Linked DNA regions of Homo sapiens: regions 2, 3 and 4 are each linked to region 1. The links are contacts of gene promoters, found by promoter capture Hi-C in blood cells and fetal thymus (Javierre and others, 2016). All regions are on one chromosome and are shown on one strand. The core of a region is centred on a gene start or on the middle of the fragment in contact, and the rest is flanking DNA. Distances in the headings are between cores, read along the strand shown.

Region 1 (2,862 bases), core at 267-2,766:
CTCAATTTTCCAACTTTCCTATGATTAAACACTTCTAAGCTCAAACGCTGTTATTGTAATCTAGATGGTGTTTTCTTTCCCCCTTCCCCAACAAATGTTTAAATTGTCTCCGCTGGATTCCCCCATCCCCAACTCCCCCCTACCCCCATCTGACCTTGAAAACAGAGAAGTTTTCCTTTTCTCTACTTACCCTAAACTATTTAAAAATGGAGGCCCTCTGACCTTTTTACAACACTCTTCTTGTCTGACACACCAAATGTTAATCTGAAAGCCAAGAGGAGGGAAAAGGTCTTGCAGGGCGGGGAGGGGGTTGTGGAAAGGGGGTGGAGGTACTATATATTTGGCATCAGCTCAGAAATTCAGAAATGTTTGTGCAACCACTCCCCCAGCCAGGATCCTCCCCCACCCCCCACCCGCAACTGCCTTCTAACACATTAATAAAAAAAGATGTGAGCAGACGAAATTGGAGAGCCCAGGAGGGACAGCTAAGGCGGTCATGATTTTGTACCCAGGCAAGACCACTGATCACCATCCCACATGTCCACCCCTCCTCCCTCCCTTCCAACGTGCCAAGTTTAGGATTGGGACCTCTGCAGCTTCCACCCCCATCCCCTGAGGTGGCCCGGTAAACTTGCGGCAGTACCACCCATTAACAGCTTGTGTGAGGCAAACGGAAGGACTGACACAGCAGCCTCTGCGCGTCGGGACAGCAGCGCTGTGCACCTTAAGAATCGTTTATGTTCTTTAAAAAAAAAAAAGAAAAAAAAGTGCAATGAGCGCACAGGCCTGGAATACATTAACTTGTGAACCGACTCTATCACAACTCGAGAGAGTCCGTCTCTCCCTCAAACAAAAAGAAGGTGGGGGCGGGGGAGAAAGGCCAAGGCACATTACCATCCTGTCCCGAGCTTTCCAGATACTCCGTCAGGTCACAGCCAAACGCGCTGGCGGCTCCCTTTCGTTTCAGCTTCTGCTTAGCACCCTTGTTCTTCATGAGTTAGTCCCAAAGAGGCTGCCCCTCCGTCTCTGCCGCCCCTCTGCTTGGCACCGCTGTAAGATGGGCTCCCGGGCTAGATCACCGGCTGCCCCGCGGCTCTGGGGGGCCGCATCGGAAGATGGAAGAACTTGGGCTGGGGGCCCTGCGCATGGACCCCGCGGGCCGCGGGCCGGCAGAGCCTGAGATCCACCCCGCGCCGCTCCGGGGCCGCCGTGCCGAGGCCGTGCAGACTGGCAGCCGCGGGCCGGCTCGCCTGGGAGTGTCACTTCCTCACTTGGAGTCCTAGGGACTTTCACAGGCTCCTGCGGTGTCTTCGGGTGTTTCTCCTCAGCTTAAGAGGGAGGGCAAGCTCTCCCCACCCCTTACTAAGTGCCCCGGAGACGACGCGGACGCGGGGCGAGGAGACTGCCCAGGGGGCTGCGGTGGGTCCTGCGCCCTGGGCCCGCTGTCTCGCCTTCAGACGACTTTGGTAGAGCGAAAAACAAGCATCCTGTCGCTGCTGCCCGCCCTCACGCCTTCCTTTTTTTCCTGTCTTACAAATCCTAGGATCATCCAGCTCAGGAAATGCTGGAAGGAAGTTAGCTAGGGAGGGGGGCGGTGGGTGGAAATTTTTGGCAGCTCGGTGCTTGTGAGTGTGTGGAGCTAGAGGAAGTAGGTGGGTGGGTTGAGGAGCACGGGGTTGGGGTAGAGAACGCGTTCTCCCGAGAGCAGTTCTGCGACTCCAGAGATAACTGGGCAGCCCCGGAGGAAATCGCGCTCTTCTCGCAGGACCCGCAGCCGCAGCCGCCGCTTCCTGCCCCGCCGAGCCGGCTCTTTGAAGTGGCGGGAGGAGGTGCGCTGGCATTCTGCGGGGACCGTGCTGGTTGGGACTTTCAGAACCCTCTGCCCTGGTTTTATCCTCATTGTCATCGTATCTTTGACACTTTCTATTTCGGTGCCCGCCTGTCTGCTACGCAAATACTTAAAGAGTAATGACAGAGACAAACAGGGGACTCCAGCGGAGAAACCTGACAGGCAGTGGCTTCACGCCGGCCACTCCCATCCCAACCTCCTCTGCAGCGTTCGTGCACCCCCACCTCAGCTCACTCCCCTCCCACTCTGGGGTAAAGATACCCCTGGGCAAAGAGAGGCTGCAGCTTTGTAACCACTGCCCAGGAAATCAGATTTCTGGTTACATATTCAAGACACACACACACACTACTGCAAAGTTTTCTAAATGGAAGTGATTTGGGGGGGACAAACCAGGATTTAAGATGCCTCTGACACATGAAATGTGAAGAAAGCAGTCTCCCAGGTTCTTTCATAATTTGTTTCAAGTTGTTTCAAGAGGGCATGTTTTTTTCTTCTCCAGTTAGATTTTAAATTCTTTAACTTCTGTGTACTCAGCACACAGAAAGCACTCAAATTCTTGTGATTTAACCATTTGAGGATTAGATGAAACTTCCTGTATAAATTCAAATCCATATACAGGCTTGAAGGATAGGGGCATATGTCATACAGCTCAGATTGCTGGCAAAGCTGCATCCGTAGCATTTTAGGTACTGAATCCCTTTACAGTCACTGTCTCTCTATGTAACCTTAACAGTCTATGAACTTTGACCCTTGACATTTTCTCTATGTCAGAGGTCACAACTTGATAGCCACCCTGCCAGATCTGGCCCATAGATGTACTTGGCTGGCAGACACCATGCTTTAACACGTTTTAAAATTAGTAGCTAGCATTAAAAAGTTAAGAGATTTCACATAAAATCTGAATTTCTGGCTTCTCTTGAAAAAATGGAAGATCTAGTTACACCACAAGTGCATTCCCATATGGCAAGGACGGCTGATGCTGAGTTGTGGCAGGCCCCTTGGAGGCACCCTCT
Region 2 (2,862 bases), core at 271-2,770, 210 kb before region 1:
CTATCACAACAACCTGTATTATCACATACATATTAGACATTAAAATTCAAAGAAAGCAAGGGCCTTGCTGTTTTGCCCATTGAGTATATCAAGGGTGAAGCACAACACTGTCCATAAATACATTTTGCATCAATGTTGATGAGATGTAATGGGAAGCCAACCAAAGAATTCAGTAGTTCTGATGTATAAGTCCTTACACATTTTCTAAACTGTATTTGAGAAGACTGAAAAATATAAACAAAAATGTCTTACCTCCTGCAATTACAAAATGGCTTAAGGCATCTTTATTTCGGTATACATTCAGACTAGTGTTCACTGTGCTGGTAAAAAGGGAGGAGAAGGAAAATATAAGATTTAAAGCATATCCCATTTACCTTCTTGAGTGTTATTTTCACTGACTTAATAGATTTAGAAAAGCCTACTATATCAATCCCTGTTCCTAGCCTAGGCCCCTTCAATGTGTTCCAGACATGGTTGTAAAACCATAACTACACCAGTCTTTTACACAGAGAAAAGTTCTTGAAAAAAAAAAAAAGGCATTATTAATCACTTTCATGTGGGTATTCAGTTTTCATAACCCCACCTGCTCAAAAGACACACTCCTAAAACAATATCAAGAAAATTCACTATCTCACAATTCAGAGTGAACTTACTTGAATATAGTCACAAACACTGCAGTTCTCCAACCCCAGCGCCAGCCATAACGAATGAAGCCTCGTGTGGCAGCACGATGTGCAGATTGCTAAAGTTAATTAAAAAACTGTGAGGTTCTAAGACACCATCATATTTTCCTTATTCTAGAACTGCGGTAGAGGAATTTTAGCTATGGATTAGTCAGGTACACCCAAACAGATAGAAATACTAGAAAATCTCTAGAAATACTATTCTTTAAGTATTGAGGCTTACGTAAAAGTTCCATGTGTAGCCTATCCTATCAGGAGATGAAAAAATGGTTGAGTATCCCTTATCTGATACTTGAGACCAGATCCCTTATCTGATACTTGGATTTAGGATTTTTTCAGATTTGGGAATATGCGCTTTTAACACTTACTGGTTGAGCATCCCAAATCCAAAAAACCGAAATCTGAAATGCTCCAATGAGCAATTCCTTTGAATGACGTGTCAATGCTCAAAAAGTTTTGAATCTGAGCATTCAGGATTTCAGATTTGTGCTGCTCAACCTGTAATGAATTATAAATCTACAGAATAAAATAAGAATCCATGAGTCCCTACTGATAGAAATAAATTATAAATAGATAAATAAATATGTAAATAGAGGGGGGAAGGGAAAACACTTCCTTAGAGCATAATACTAACCAATAAATGTAGAAAGAATGATAGACTTTAGAAAATGCCCATTTGGCCACCACAGTCATAATTGTTACAGGAAGAATCATCATTAAATGCTAAAACTGCCTGGGTATGGTGGCTCACACCTGTAATCTCAGCACTTTGGGAGGCAACTAGGGAGGATCACTTGAGCCGACAAGTTTAAGACCAGCCTGGGCAACATAGCGAGATCCTGCCTTTACAAAAAAAATTTAAGAATTAGCTAGGCATGGTGGTGTGTGTTTGCAGTCCTAGCTACTCGGAAGGCTGAGGCGGGAGGAAACCTTGAGTCCAGAAGTTTGAGGTTGTGGTGAGCTATGATCGCGCCGCTGCACTCCAGCCTGCACTGAGGCAGGAAGACCCTGCCTCAAAAAATTTCAAAAAAAAAATTAATTAATTAAAAAATAAAAATAGGCTGGGCACAGTGGCTCACACCTATAATCCCAACCCTTTGGGAGGCCAAGGAGGGGGTGAACTGCTTGAGCTGAGGACTCTGAGACCAGCCTGGGCAACATGGCAAAACCCTGTCTCTACAAAAAATACAAAAATTAGCTGGGAATGGTGGCACATGCCTATAGTCCCAGCTACTTGGGAGGCTGAGACAGGAGAATCGAGTGAGCCTGGGAAATGGAGGTTGCAGCAAGCCAAGATTGTGCCACTGTACTCCAGCCTGGGCAACAGAGTGAGACCCTGTCTCAAAAAATAAATAAAGGAATAAATAATTTTTAAAAAAATAAAAAAATTATAAATGCTAAGAATTTAGAATAGTTTTTAGATAGTAGAAATATTATAGTTTATAATAGCATTTAAGTAGTAGAAATTTGATGAAAAGCAGGATATTTACATAGTCTCAAAGGAACTAACAAGTACTCAAAATACTTATAAATTACCAAGGAAAAACATAGTAATTTTACAGTGTATAGTTGGCAGAGGCCATCTTAAGCAAGTCACTGAAGTAAACATCACCAGTAAAGGGACAGAGATATCATGGGTTTCTAATTTAATTTCAGTTCTAGGGTATTCCTGTCAAAAAACATAGTCTGAATGCAGTCATGAGAAACCATCAAACAAACCCAAATTGAGGGACATTCTACAAAATAAATCACCCATAGTCAAGGCCATGAAAGACAAAAACAGAGAAACTCTTCCAGACTAAATGAGACCAAAGCAGCATAACAGGCAAATTCAACATGTGATCCAGGGTCAGATTCTGGACCAGACAAAAAAAAATTTAATTAATTAATTTTTTAATAAGAACTCAAGCCTAACTTCTGAAAAATACATTTTTTTATTTATTTTTAAAATAAATGATACTGTGGGATAACTAGCAAAATTTACAGGTCTTTAAATAAGATAATAGTACTATATCTGTGTTAATTTCCTGATCTTGATATTATAATTGTGGTTGTATAAGAGAATTTCCTTGTTTTTAGGAAATAACACACTGAAGTATTCATCATGTCTATAACCTACTGTCAAGTAGCTCAGAACAAATTAGTACATATTATACAGAGGGAGAATGATAAAACAAAC
Region 3 (2,862 bases), core at 95-2,594, 150 kb before region 1:
CCTTATCCATGGTTTTGATTTCTGAAGTTTCGGTTACCTGCGATCAACCAAGGTCCAGAAACATTAAATAGAAAATTCCAGAAATATGTGACAAATTATGTTTTAAATTGTGTGCTGTTCTGAGTAGTATGGTGAAATTTCTCGCCATCCCATTTTGTCCCACCAGGATGTGAATCATCTCTTTGTCCACCATGTCTGTGCCGTGCATGCTACCTGTCAATTAGTTGCTTAGTAGCGGACTTGGTTATTAGATGGACTGGCATGGTGTCACAGGGCTTGTGTTCACGTGACCTTTATTTTACTTAATATGGCTCCAAAGTGTAGTTATGCTCACAATTCAGGTATGCCAAAGGAAAGCTGTAAAGTGCTTCCTTTAAGTGAAAAGGGAAAGTTCTTGACTTAGTAAGGAAAGACGAAAAATCATGCTGAGGTTGCTAAGATTTACTGTAAGAATGAATCTTCTATCCATGAAATTGTAAACAGTATATTGTTATAATTGTTCTATTTTATTATTAATCTCTTAATGTACCTAATTTATAAGTTAAAACTTTATTGTATGTATGTGTATATAGTATAGGAAAAAACATAGTGTATGTAGGGTTTGGTACTATCCATGGTTTTAGGCATCCACTGGGGTGTTGGAATGTCTTCCTGCAGGTAAGAGGGTCTACTCTATGCCATATTCAAGTGCTGTAGACATGTATATATATTATTATGATTGTAACTAACATTTTATTACAAAACCTTTTAAACATTCAACAAGGTTGAAAGAATTTTACAGCTATCACCAGTGTAATCCTTACCCAGATGATTCTGCCTATTAATGTTTTACTATAACTGTGTAATACTTATCTGTCCATCTCTCCATCCCTCTATCCATTAGTCCATCTTACTTTTGATGCATTTCAAAGTTAAATTTCAGACCTCAGTTTGCTTCCTCCTCAATACTTCAGCATGTGTGTATCATTAACTAGAGCTCGATATTTGTTGACAGCTTTTTTTTCTTTTGAGGTTAAATTCATATAAATAAAATTCCCGCCGGGCGCGGTGGCTCAAGCCTGTAATCCTAGCACTTTGGGAGGCCGAGGTGGGCAGATCACCTGAGGTTAGTAGTTCGAGACCAGCCTCGCCAACATGGCGAAACCCCGTCTCTACTAAAAATAAAAAAATTAGCAGGGCGTGGTGGCACGTGTCTGTAATCCCAGTTACTCGGGAGGCTGAGGCAGAAGAATCACTCGAACCCAGGAGATGGAGGTTGCAATGAGCCAGAGCCAGGATCGCGCCATGGCACTCCAGACTGGGCGACGAGCAAGACTCTGTCTCAAATAAATAAATAAATAAAATAAAATAAAATAAAATTCCCAAATCTTGTGTATATGGAGTTTTGTTAAATGTGGACATACCTGTGTGACTTAATCCCCTGTCAAGACTTCAGAGCGTTACACATACTCCACAAGATTCTGTCATGCCACTTTCCCATCAAACCCCACCACTGTCCAGAGACGGTTGCTTTTTTTTTTTGAGACAGGGTTTTGCTCTGTCATCCAGGCGGGAGTGCAGTAGAGCGATCTCAGCTCACTGCAGCCTTGACCTCTCAGGCTCAAGCAATTCTCCCACCTCAGCCTCCCAAGTAGTTGGGACTACATGTGCACACCACCATGCCCCGCTAATTTTTGTTTTGTTTTGTTTTGTAGAGACAGGATTTTACCATGTTGCCCAGGCTGAGGAGTAAGGTTTTTTTGATTCCAGAGTCTTTGTCTTAATCATTACTGTATCAGTAGTTCTCAAAATGTAGTTTCTAGAACAGCAGCATCAGCATCACCTATAAATTTGTTGGAAATTCTCAGAATCTACCCCAAACCTACTGAAATAGAAACTGGAAAGTAGGACCTAGCAAGTTGTGTTTTAACAAGCCCTCAAGGTGATTCTGATGCATGCTCAAGTTTGAGAATTACTGCTTTATATTATTTATGGTGCTGAAGTGTTAGCGTGAATTTATGTGGGTAATTACAAAGTATAAAATCAAGTCATAATTAGAGATTGTGCTAATAAGGATGACAGGAACAGTCTTTCTATTGGTTATACTATAGTAGGTCTGATTACATTGTTTAAACAGTTATTTAAGTCACTCATCAACTGAATTCATTAATATTACCCTTGTTTTCTACAAAATGAATTATCTGTTACGAACATTTTTCATGACTCTGATTTCATATGAGGAATATATTTTACATGAATTGTTTCTATATTTATAGATTAATATTTCAGCCATTTGAGTTGAAAATAAATTTTTAGTCATTCTCCTTACTGGTTGAATCAGAAGATTAACCGTGTCTGATTTGAACGGCTAATTATGGGTATATTGAAGAATATTTTGGCCAAGTTTAAGAGGATTACTATTATCAGGATGGCTAGCAAACTTTTCTGTTTCAATTTAAGTATATAAAGAAACTTACTCTTAGAGGCTCTCCACACCCCTTAAAACAATGAAATAATTATGTAATTTAAATACATTTTAGTTTTAAACATACAGGCATACCTCAGAGATGTTGTAAGTTCTGTTCCAGACTGCTGCAATAAAGCGAATATCACAATAAACGAGTCATGTCAATTTTTTGATTTCCTAGTGCATATGAAAGTTATGTGTACACTATACTGTAGTCTATTTTATTTTATTTTATTTTATTTTATTTTTTGAGACAAGGTCTTGCTGTGTTGCCCAGGCTGGAGTGCAGTGGTGCAATCACAGCTCACTGCAGCCTTGCCCTCCTAGGATTGCTCAAGCAATCCTAGGGGACTGGGACTGTAGCCGTGTGCCACCATGCCTGGCTAATTTTTAAATTTTTTTGTAGAGATCGGGTC
Region 4 (2,862 bases), core at 134-2,633, 150 kb after region 1:
GTATAGTTCAATTTGGATGAGATGGAGGGGAGTCTTGGGAAAAGAGCTTGGTCTTTTGCTTGGAAGTTACTGGTGAATCTGGCATCAACTGGGTTGTAGGGTGGGATAGTGGTTGCATTCTGAGTTTCCATTTCAACTGAAGGCTTGGAATTGAGGTCTACTTGGCTATCCTCAAATTTGCAGGGTTGTACTCTGTAGTCAGCCTCTTTGTCCTCTTTGCTGTTGCCTAACTGGGGAAATATTCTGTCTTCAGACTGGCCACGTGTTTCATAGTAAGACAGCTGGTCTTTATGATTAGCTTGTCTGTCTGCTAAGTGGTCAGTCTGGTCAGATTCAGTGTAGTGAGCATTGTCAACTGGAGGTTGATCAGCATTACTATGAGCTTGGTCAATAGCCTGGTGTTCAGCTAGTTCAGTGGCTTGGCCGTACACTTGGTGGTGAGTCTTTACAGATGTTTTGTGGTCAACGAGGCCATACAATCTGAGGTCAGTCTGCTCAGAAGTTCCTGGGTCAGCCAGGCCAGCCAATCTGTAGTCAGTCTTCTCAGAACTTCTTCTCCTAACTTTCCCTGACATTCTGCGGTCAATCTGTACGGAAGGTCTTTGGTCAGATGGTACGGACGATCCACTGTCAATCTGTACAGAAGGACTTTGGTCAGATGGGACGGATGACCCACTGTCAATCTGCACAGAAGGTCTTCTCTCAGATAGTTTGGATAATCTGTGTGTAATCTGCTCAGAAGTTCTTCGCTCAGCCTCGCCAGACATTCTGCGGTCCATCTGCTCGGAAGCTCTTCTCTCAGACTGGCCTGCCATTCTGTGGTCGGTCTGTCTGGAACCTCTCTGGTCAGATGGCATAGCCAGTCTACCATCAATCTGCCCAGAAGTTCTTCTCTCAGCCTGGGTAGGTAATCTTCGTTCAGTCTGTTCAGCAGTTCTTTCCTCCGTCAGGCCAGACACCTGACCATCACTCTGTTCATGCTGTACATTATTAGCTTGGCTAGATGCCTTGCCTTTAGTCTGTTCAGACGGTGTTTGATTAACCTGATCATCTGCTCTAAGGTCAGAAACATCAGCAGGGTTGGATGCTCTGCGGCCAGCCTGACCAGGTGTACTATGCCCATTTTGTTCAGCTACTCCGTTGGTAGCTTGGCTAAATATGCTGGATTCAGCCTGGCTAGGCACTCTTAGGGCAGTCTGGTCAGCTATTCTGTGAGCAGTGTGGTTATCTGCCTTCCTTTCGGCCTGGTTCTTCTGGTCGTCTTCTTCCTGGCCCTTAGTGTGGCCAGCACTTGAGGGAGCGGCTGGGCTTTCATGTTTCAAGGGTTCAGCCAGAGCCTCTTGCGGAGGCTCTTCCATTTCCTGCCGCGTCCCTGACTGGTCTAGGTTGCCAGGCACTGTGGGTGGGGTTGGGCTGGGTCGTCTAGGCGACCCTCCAGGAACGCCCCATGATTCCCACGGGCTTTGTTCGGGTCACTGCGTGCGTCAGGGAGAGTGGCCGTCCCGCTGTTGTAAGTGGAGGGACGGCAGTCAGCTGACCCTGCAGTGTGCAGGCGAGCGCAGGGAGTACGCCATGTCCTGAGAAGGGGCGATTCTCAGGCTCTGGCAGTTACAGCTTCTCCTCACCCTGCCGAGCAACCAGGCCACGGGGCTCCGTGCATCGCCACCTAGAGTGTTACCCTCTTCCTTGTTCACAGAGGTTCTCCGCAGTGTGTGAGAAAGAGGCCCTCTCTCAGGTACTGCTCCTCTGATTAACATCCCCCACCGCACCTCCAAATGTCAACAGATGAACACACAACCAGCTGCACGAGGACCACAAAACTGAACAGAGGTTGTTGCTATTGCCATCCCCTTTGGGTATAGCTGTCTTGGCAGTGGAAACTCCTGCCCCAAGGTGTTTTCTTGCTGGATTAGACATGTGATCTGTGGCGGGAGAGCCAGAGAGAGGAGAGAAGATCCAGTGAGAATGGGTTCTAAAACTGCACCATCTAGTGGTCTTACAGCAGAGAGGCGAGTTAGAAGGAGGCCAAATCAGAGTTCCAGAAAGGAAGGGAGTAAGGAAAGTGGGAGAAAGATACCAGAAGGAATATTTAGCAAGTGGAGAATTTGTATTTGATAGTGTTGGCCAGTGGGGCCCAGTTTTTGAGATTTGGTCCTCCCACTTTGCAATCAACCTTAAGAATGCACCTCAGAGTCAGTAGGCTGTCTACTTTCAGGAGTAGGCCAGTACAGAGGTGGTGATTGATGAGACAAATTACTTTGACCTTGCAAAGCCTGAAATCACTGAGGCAGGCCAAGGGTTGGTAGTGTGATGCCAGATATTCCTTTAGTAGGGATTTAACTGCATTAAACAATTAGAAATGAGACTTAAAATCCAAATTCAAATACTTGTGACAAAGGAGAGTGGATACACTTGACACCATACTTAGGAATGGAAAGGGGAATCTAAGCACACTGAAGTAAAGTCATTTATGTAACAGTGCCTAGAACATAATAGGTGCTCAAGAAGTGCTTGTTGAATGTCACTTTATGAATTATCTACCTTATTTATTTAAAAATGCATGACACCATTGGATACTGTGTTTAGAGTAAAATAGGTCTTGGGCTATGGCTTGTAGCTTCAAAGTGCTATTGGTTTTGGAGATTTATTTTTCCATTTTATAACTTAAATGTAATAATCATAGAAATATAAAAAAGAAAGCGTAAAGAAAAAAATTCCCAAACACTCAAGAGATAACCTGTATTGACATTTTGATGTTTATCCTTCTGGAAATACCCCCATGCAAATCTATGTGTCTATATCTATAGGTATGTATATATTTTACAAAATGATGATTTATCAATTTGAGATCTTTTTTTTAAA

The links. Contacts are between HindIII fragments. The CHiCAGO score rates a contact against its expected background, and 5 or more counts as called.
Region 2: a fragment that was not itself captured here is called in contact with the fragment with the promoter of ARHGAP31 in region 1 in 3 of 17 cell types (naive CD8 T cells, activated CD4 T cells and fetal thymus); the score reaches 5.8 in naive CD8 T cells.
Region 3: a contact is called between a fragment that was not itself captured here and the fragment with the promoter of ARHGAP31 in region 1, in 1 of 17 cell types (naive CD8 T cells). The highest score is 5.3, in naive CD8 T cells.
Region 4: a contact is called between the fragment with the promoter of TEX55 here and the fragment with the promoter of ARHGAP31 in region 1, in 6 of 17 cell types (activated CD4 T cells, total CD4 T cells, non-activated CD4 T cells and 3 more). The highest score is 9.8, in activated CD4 T cells.

What each region holds. Positions count from the first base shown.
Region 1 is chr3:119,293,037-119,295,898 of GRCh38, reverse strand. ARHGAP31 (Rho GTPase activating protein 31) reads right to left here and starts at 1,516. Exons shown (of 12, transcript NM_020754.4): 1 at 895-1,516. The coding sequence starts at 994. RefSeq lists a silencer at 1,084-1,203 and an enhancer at 2,044-2,093. The HindIII fragment of the contact is 3,332 bases long and covers 1-2,862 here.
Region 2 is chr3:119,501,412-119,504,273 of GRCh38, reverse strand. It overlaps TIMMDC1 (translocase of inner mitochondrial membrane domain containing 1), which reads right to left. Exons shown (of 7, transcript NM_016589.4): 3 at 654-742; 4 at 253-320. Among named protein-coding and RNA genes, the nearest start is that of TIMMDC1, 4.3 kb to the right of the region's middle. The HindIII fragment of the contact is 5,898 bases long and covers 1-2,862 here.
Region 3 is chr3:119,443,739-119,446,600 of GRCh38, reverse strand. The region is part of intron 5 of TMEM39A (transmembrane protein 39A); the gene reads left to right. Among named protein-coding and RNA genes, the nearest start is that of TMEM39A, 18 kb to the left of the region's middle. The HindIII fragment of the contact is 6,903 bases long and covers 1-2,862 here.
Region 4 is chr3:119,144,686-119,147,547 of GRCh38, reverse strand. It overlaps TEX55 (testis expressed 55), which reads right to left and starts at 1,383. Exons shown (of 3, transcript NM_152539.3): 1 at 1-1,383. The coding sequence starts at 1,358. It also overlaps a transcript of IGSF11 not described here. RefSeq lists a silencer at 1,832-2,126. The HindIII fragment of the contact is 11,642 bases long and covers 1-2,862 here.